2 separate regions of the Homo sapiens genome follow, and region 1 is linked to region 2. The links are contacts of gene promoters, found by promoter capture Hi-C in blood cells and fetal thymus (Javierre and others, 2016). All regions are on one chromosome and are shown on one strand. Each heading gives the region's core, a stretch centred on a gene start or on the middle of the fragment in contact. The rest is flanking DNA. Distances are from core to core; before and after follow the strand shown.

What was found. The method cuts DNA at HindIII sites, captures the fragments that hold promoters and counts their contacts. A CHiCAGO score of 5 or more calls a contact.
Region 1: a fragment that was not itself captured here is called in contact with the fragment with the promoter of ERF in region 2 in 16 of 17 cell types (fetal thymus, naive CD4 T cells, naive B cells and 13 more); the score reaches 27.1 in fetal thymus.

What each region holds. Positions count from the first base shown.
Region 1 is chr19:42,132,566-42,136,344 of GRCh38, forward strand. LNROP (long non-coding regulator of POU2F2) reads left to right here and starts at 64. Exons shown (of 3, transcript NR_038332.1): 1 at 64-196; 2 at 340-463. It overlaps MIR4323 (microRNA 4323), which reads right to left and starts at 948; the gene lies at 880-948. It also overlaps a transcript of POU2F2 not described here. RefSeq lists a silencer at 563-822 and an enhancer at 1,103-1,152. The HindIII fragment of the contact is 1,520 bases long and covers 1,590-3,109 here.
Region 2 is chr19:42,253,430-42,256,970 of GRCh38, forward strand. ERF (ETS2 repressor factor) reads right to left here and starts at 1,699. Exons shown (of 4, transcript NM_006494.4): 1 at 1,549-1,699. The coding sequence starts at 1,570. RefSeq lists silencers at 161-320, 441-560, 651-720, 801-1,490, 1,501-1,900 and 1 more and enhancers at 1,256-1,755, 2,396-2,927. The HindIII fragment of the contact is 3,576 bases long and covers 1-3,039 here.

The DNA of each region.
Region 1 (3,779 bases), core at 1,100-3,599, 120 kb before region 2:
CCGGCAGCCCGGCCCACCCCAAATCATGTGTGTGTGCTGGGGGGTGGGGGCTAGTGGGGCAGAGGATAAGCAGGCTGGAAGAGCCGACTCCTACGGCTGCGATCCAAGAGGTGCCTGCAACAGTTGCCCCCCGACTTCTGTCGCCCCCATGGAGGCAAACAAGTCTGGAACAGGGAATGGGGGTCTGGGAGAGAAGGTGGGTCCACAGCAGTAACAACAATAAAACACTAGCCAGCAGCTTATTGGAGAGAGGGCTTTGCCGATGCCTGACCCTGTGCCTCACTCTTGACAGGTGCCATCTCCAATGTGGTGGTCACTCTTATTTGCCCCATTTTACAGATGAAAAGACTGAGGATCAGAGAGGTGAGCAGTAGCTTTCCCAAAGGCCCAGAGCCAAGAAGCGTTGAAGCTTAAAAGCACGCCGCGGCAGGGAAGATCAAGCAAGCCCTGCGCCTATCTGCAGGTGAGCTGTTGGGTGCCACCATTGGGAGGAAGTGGTGCCCGTGGGCAGTGGTAGTGGGGACGGTGGGTCGGGGACTTGGCCTGGGGCTACAATAAGTCGCCGGCCAAATGCGGGCGCCCGAGGCGGCTCCAGTGGAGGGGAGCACCAGGTCCCCGGGCTGCCGGCTGGCTCTTCGCGCTGCGGCGCTCCCATTTCAGCGCTTCCCTCCGTGCCCGCCAGAGGGCGGCAGCGCCCAGCCAATGGGCCGGAGGGCGGGGCCGGCTGCGGAGAAGGGAGCCCCTCCCTCCGCTCCCCTCCCCAACACCCTCCCAACACCTCCGCTCGCACACCTGCGAGGGTCACACAAAGGCGCAGGACTCCCGGCGCACCGCAGCTCAGACAAAGGCGCGCCCGAGTCCGCTGCCCTCTTCCTCTTGGTGCCCGAGGTCTGAGGCTGTGGGGCTGCCTGGCGTCTCCAGACACCCCACATGCCCGCCTGGGCCCCGCAGGACATCCTGCGCCCCGTGGCTGGGGGGCCCCCTAAACCACAGGTGCATGCACAGACGCCTGGACTCACCCTCACACACACAAGTATTTCTACAGATGAACCCCAGCACTTCACACACACACACGTGTGCACACACACGTGCATGAACACATCTATGTGCACAGGCCCCAACACCAGCCCTCCCTGCTGACGATGGTCACTCCCATATACTGATACCTCCTCTACTCCCTCACATGGACCCATGGGCACAAGGGCACTTCTACACATATGTGCCCAAGCATACTTCCTGGCCACTCGCACCCACTCACACACAGGCACACTCAGAAAGGGTATACTACAGGCACAACTACAGGAGTGCCCTCCCCTGACTGCACACGTGCCCTGTGCACCCAGACACACCCAGGCAAGCAGGTGGGCACAACAGGAAGGACTGGCAGTTCTCATATATGCACACGAGAGGTGACCGTTTCCCGGCATCTACACTCCACAACATCCCGTATCGTAAAGGCCATTTCACAGAGGAGATCCACAGACCACACAGCAACTGGCCACAGGATTTCTATACATGAGGGTCTTCCCGACAGCAGCCTGGTAGCAGTGGACACTGGAGCCTTGTCTCAAAGCGACATTTACGCAGTAAGCTTTGTTTTCAGTTAGGATTTGTTTTGGGGGGCTTGGAAATGGGGCTATAGGACATTATGGGGGGGGGCAAAACCTCACCAGCCACCCTTATGCTCCACCCTGGACAGACTCAACATCATCCACGTCAGGAACACGCTTTTGGATGTGACCCCATTCCAGCCCCCTAGAGCCAGCAGAGAAGGACCACCCACTTCCAGTGCGGCCAGGTCTGCAGTTCAGTCCTGGAGCCGGGGAAGGCTGTATACGCTCCCTGAGAGATGAAACAACCCCACACCTCTCGCCTCCCATGCTGGCTCCATTCTCAGTGCCTCAGACCAGAGCTGGGCCTGGTGAGGGGATCTTGAAGGAGGATGGGCCTGCCTGAGAGAGGATAGAGGGGCAGAGTTTGGAACACACTGGCAGCTGGAACAGGGAGGCTCAAGGCAGGGGGAGATGGTGGCCTCGTTGCCACAGAAGAGGCCTCGAGCCATGCTGAGGGAGGCAGGTAGGGCATGGGAGCTAGGGAGCAGTGGGGGCCACTTGAGGTGCAGGGAGCTGGGAGGGAGGCGGTACAGGGGAGGCCAGGCTGGGCTCAGGGCTGAGCGGTAATTAAAGGAGACGTAGGGGGCTCCCCAGGGCCAGCGGGGCTGGTAACTGACACGCGGGCCCCATTGCTCCGCTCATATTTCTCGCCGGATCGATACGTTTGACTCCCGACAAGACAATAATCGCTTGTACGCGGCCGGCGAGTCGATCAAATACATTATTAGAGCGAGGTCCCCCGGGGGCCCGGCGGGGAGTGGTGGGGGGGAGCAGCCAGCCCACCGGGGACAGCAGAGCGAGATTCTTCACCCCTCAGGGCCCCCCAGCCATGGCCTCTTCCTCTTGGCCACCCCTGGGGACCCTCTCTGTGGCTCAGTTCCCCAGCCTCTCTCTGAATGTCTGCTGCTTTGGTGATCTCTCTACTCAGCCCCCAGCATCATCCTTGCTCTGTGAGGGAACCCAAGGGTTCTTTCCCCATAGGCACTGCCCTCATCTGTAGGGCTGTGGCATGTGGGAGCTCAGAGAGGCTCCTCAGACCCCTAGCTTGGCAGGAGACAGGGAGACCAAGCCTCAGGCCATACTCTGAGTCCATGGCTGGGCCAGGAGATGAACTTGGGCCCAAGACTCAATGATACCCACCTCCCTCTGCCCAGTCCCCTTGCTGCATCTAAGCACACGGGGCTTCAGCAGCGCCCAGGCCAGGGGCAGCCTCTGGGGGGTTAGGGAAAGCTAACCTAGGGACCCAAACAAGCAGGAAAACAGGATGATAGGGGTGGCAGGAAAACAGGATGATAGGGGTGGCAGACAAACACATACACAAAGAGATGTGTGTCTGCTCCTGCTGCAGGGCCATGTGGTCCCCCAGTGGGCCTCAGAGACCCTCAAACCATGCCCAGCCTCAGCTCTGGCCCACCCGAGACACTGCTTGCCACTCTTGCCCACTTTCCTGGCTTCTAGGCTCAAGCCTATTTCCCCTTTTAAAAAAAATTAAATTAAGCTTTAGCTTTATTTTTAAAGTCCAGGCTCTTTTTTTTTTTTTTTCCTTTGAGACAGAGTCTCACTCTGTCGCTCAGGCTGGAGTGCAATGGCACAATCCCGGCTCACTGCAACCTCCGCCTCCTGGGTTCAAGCGCATCTCACGCCTCCTCAGCCTCCCGAGTAGCCGGGATTACAGGTGCACACCACCAGGCCAGGCTAATTTTTGTGTTTTTAGGAGAGACAGGGTTTCACCACATTGGCCAAACTGGTCTCGAACTCCTGAGATCATGTGATCCACACACCTCAGCCTCCCAAAGTGCTGGGATTACAGACATGACCTCAAGCCTATTTCCTGTTTACACACCTGCTTTGCCCTCTAGACCCGAAGTGCCCCTTTGCTTCTCCAGCAGCCCTAAGTCAAAGTCAAGTTCTGCTTAGGAGTATCCAGCATTCAGGGACTTAAAATATATCTTCCTCTTTGTCTTCATTAGCAGCAGCAGCCCCCACAGCATTGTGGTCTATGCTTTCCTTTTTTTTTTTTTTTTTTGAGACTGTCTGGCTCTGTCACTCAGGCTGGAGTGCAGTGGCATGATCTTGGCTCACTGCAAACTCTGCCTCCCAGGCTCATGCCATCCTCCCACCTCAGCCTCCCAGATAGCTGGGACCACAGGCGTGCACCACCACATC
Region 2 (3,541 bases), core at 449-2,948:
AAAACCCACACACTGTCCCGCCCCCCGACAGGGTTGGGGAAGCGACCCGCGGATCCTATCAGGCCAAGGCCGGTAGCAGGGAGAGAAGATGAAGCGAGGTTGTCTGGGTGCCTCGGCCTCCTCCTTGGGCGAGGGTAGGCTCCTGCTGCCCCCAGGGCCCAGCCACCCGGGAGCGAGTGGAAGCCGGGGGAGTGTGTAGGACGCACGTGACTGACCCTACCGCACTCCGCACCCCGGCCCCACCCCCAGGGCCCCTCCTCGGTCCGGGTCCCAATCCCCTGGCGCCGGATCCCAGCTCGGAGCCCTTTAAGATTAAGCCGCCCCCACCCGCCGAGCAGGGGGATGGGGATGGGAATGGGGTGGGAATGGGGTGGGGATGGGGTGGGGTGGGTGGGCCGGTCGGGGCACACACCCGCACACAGGAGCCCGAGCCGCCGCCGCCGCCGCCGCCGCCGCCGGGGGAAGGAAACAAGTTTGAACAGCGGCGCCCGGCCCCCTTCCCCCTCCCCCGTCCCCGCCCCGGGCCGGATTCCGACGGGGTAGACGGGCAGGGGGCGGCTGGGACCCCTCCCCCTGCGCGCTCGGGCGCAAAGTCCAGCCCGCGCGAGCCCGGGGGCGGCGGGGGAGGGGAGGGGGAAAAGTCCGAGTGGGAGGGGGAGTTAATCCCGCTGCCCCCCGCCCGCCGACCGAGGGGGAGGGGAACCTTGGCCCCTTAAGGAGGAGCAAGTTGGCGGGGAAGAGAGGGGCGGAGGGAAGAGACGGCCCGCTGAAAGAGAAGAGGTGGATCCGGGAGGGGGGGCGAGGGGGGAGCCTCTGCGTCTCCCCCCACCTTCCCCACCCTCCTCAACCCCGGGCCACCGGTGGCGCGGGAGGAGGGTACCCAGGTCTCCCCGGAGCCACCTTAAAGCCGCGCGTTCTAAGGTCGGAAACAAAAAGTTCCTTTTTCGAACGTTCGGGCTGCGCTTTGGAACTTTGCGACTCGGCGAGGGCGGGGGAGCGAGGAGCCGACAGAGGCGGGCGGGGGAGGGGCGGCGCAGCCAGGACCCCGAGTCCCGGGCTCCCCACTCACGCCCTCCTCCTAGAGGCCATCCCGTATCCCCCGCTAACCTGGTGCAGGGCACGCGCCGCCGTGAAGGTCACCAGCAGGACCGCGCAGCGCAGAACCAGGGATAGCGGGCCCGGTGGACGAGCCCCCCCGCCCCGCACACGTCCCGGCCCCCAGAGTGCAACGTGACAAGAGCGGAGGGGAAGGACCCCGCCACCCCCGTGATCCCGGGAGTGGGGGAGAGCCCGGCCTGCGGGGTCCCGGTAGGGATACAGGACCAAGACCCGCAGCACCCACACCACTCCGCCCGGAGCCAGGAATCGGGGGTCCCAGGCAGCAACCCCGCTCGCGCCACGAGAAGCAACAGGTCTCCAGTGCTTGAGGGGTCCCCCAGAACTGGGGATCACTCGGGCTCCCCCGGACCCCTTCAGCCCCCCCAAAGTTTCTCCGTTCGGTTTCCCGGGGCAACAAGTCTCCCCCACACGTGCTGCCCCCGCCCCCACCTGTGTCCGCCGGGGTCTTCATGCTGGGGGGCCCGGGGCGAAGCGCCCCGATTCCGGGCCGCGGCTCCCGGCGCCCTCGCTGCCCCGTCCCGTCCCGCGCCCGTCGGGCCGCCCTCGCCGCCTCACCCGGCCTCGCCTCTCAGAGCCTCTCCCCTCCCCGCCGCCGCCTCCCGGGTTAATATCGCACTCCGGGGCCGGGACGCCCACGCCCCCCGGCCGGCGACGTCACCGCCGCGTCGCCATGGAGACACTGCGCCCGCCCCCTCCCCGCGCACTCACACACACGCTCGTCGGCGCGCAGCCACTGAGGACCGGCCGGCTCTGGGCTTAAAGGGGCCGCGCGGCGGGGGAGGGAGGAAGGAGGGGGTGGGGGTGGGATGGGGTCCCGCGGGTCATGACCCTAGTCAGAGGCTCCGAGTCTGCAGCTAACTTAAGTCTTCGGCACTCGCTACCTGCTGCCCCTCCTCCTCTCCTGCCCACTGCGGGCTCCAGAGTTTCTTTTGGGAGCCTGTATGGGAAAACGGGGGGCCCTTCCGAGGAAGCGGGGGTCAGAAACTTTTGTGGGGAGGGGGCAGAATCTTCTCTGCAGAGGGGCGGGGTCAGGACCTTAGAAGATGATGAAGACCACAGCATTTCCCAGCTTGGTTTTACCCAACCCCCCAACCCTGAGCCTGAATGGGGGCAGCTGTCCAGGGGTGGGGTGGAATGGGTGGGATGCATTTCCCAGCATCGGAAATGGGGAGGCGGCTGTGCCCTCCGCTCCTGTGGGGATGGGGTCTTGGCTTCCCTGATAACCCCCGTCCAGCTGGGGAGGAAGTGACCAGAGAGAATGCATTTGGAAGCCCCCACCACCACCGTCCCCAGGCTGCAGCTGTCCCGGGGATAGGGCTGGCGCCGGAGGTCCCCCCACGTCCACTACTAGGACCGGGGGTTCCGGAGGCGGGGCCGGGATACGAGGGGGCGACCAAAGTCTGAACAAATGTGCTCCCAAGGGGCACTGAGGGTCGCCAGGAGAGAGGAAGACAGGGCTTAAGATCGAAAGCCAGAGCGTAGAGAAGTGTTAAGTCTCCGTTCTCTGCCTCAGCCGGGAGGGAAGGATGAAGCCTGAGGCTCTGGGAAACAGGAAATCACAGCGCAGATCTGATGGAGCCCAGGAGCCGGCAGCAGGGTAGAGGCCAAATAGAAGCAATATTCACAGGCATAGCCTGGAAACAGAGTCTCAAAAAAGACTCTGAGGTTCCGAAGGAGGGGCGTATGGGTGGCGGGCGGGAGTTGGGGGGGCTGGGTGGGGGACGAATCCAGAAGATGGGCGGGGAGACAGAAAAGTCACAGATAGGGAAGGCCTGCGGAGCTCAGGCTCCCGGTACCCAGGGCTTCAATCCCAGCCTCCTCGCTTGCGGGGTACCTAGTCCACCTTAGACAGGCTCCTCACCAGTGCCTAAAAAAAAAAGTCTCAGGCCTCCTCCTTGGGGAGACCAAGGGCTCCAGGGAAGCTTTCCCCCACAACCCCCGGGAATTATGTAACCTTGCCTACGGACAGTACAGCTCCCCCACGGATATTGTAACCCTCTGGGAGCGGTGTGGTCCAGCAATAATAATCATCTTCATTGTTCGAATAACAGCTCCCGAATTCCGAGTGTTCATGATGTGCCAGGCACCGGGCCAAGCATTGTCAGGGGCATCTTCTCATTTAATCCTCACAAAATCCCAACGAGGGGAATTACTGCTGTTATCCCCATTTACAGATAAAGAAAGTGATGCTCTCTGAGGGAAAATCAGTCCACTAAATCTTACAGCCAGGAAGTATTGGAACTAAGATTCGAACCCAGATCTAACCAATTCCAAACCACCACATTTACCCTTTACCATTATGCTTTATTACCTCTTTTACTACCCCCTCCAAAAAAAAAAAAATGCAGATTTTCAAAGATACTACATCAGGGCCCGGCGCAGTGGCGCACGCCTGTAAACCTAGCACTTTGGGAGCCGAGGC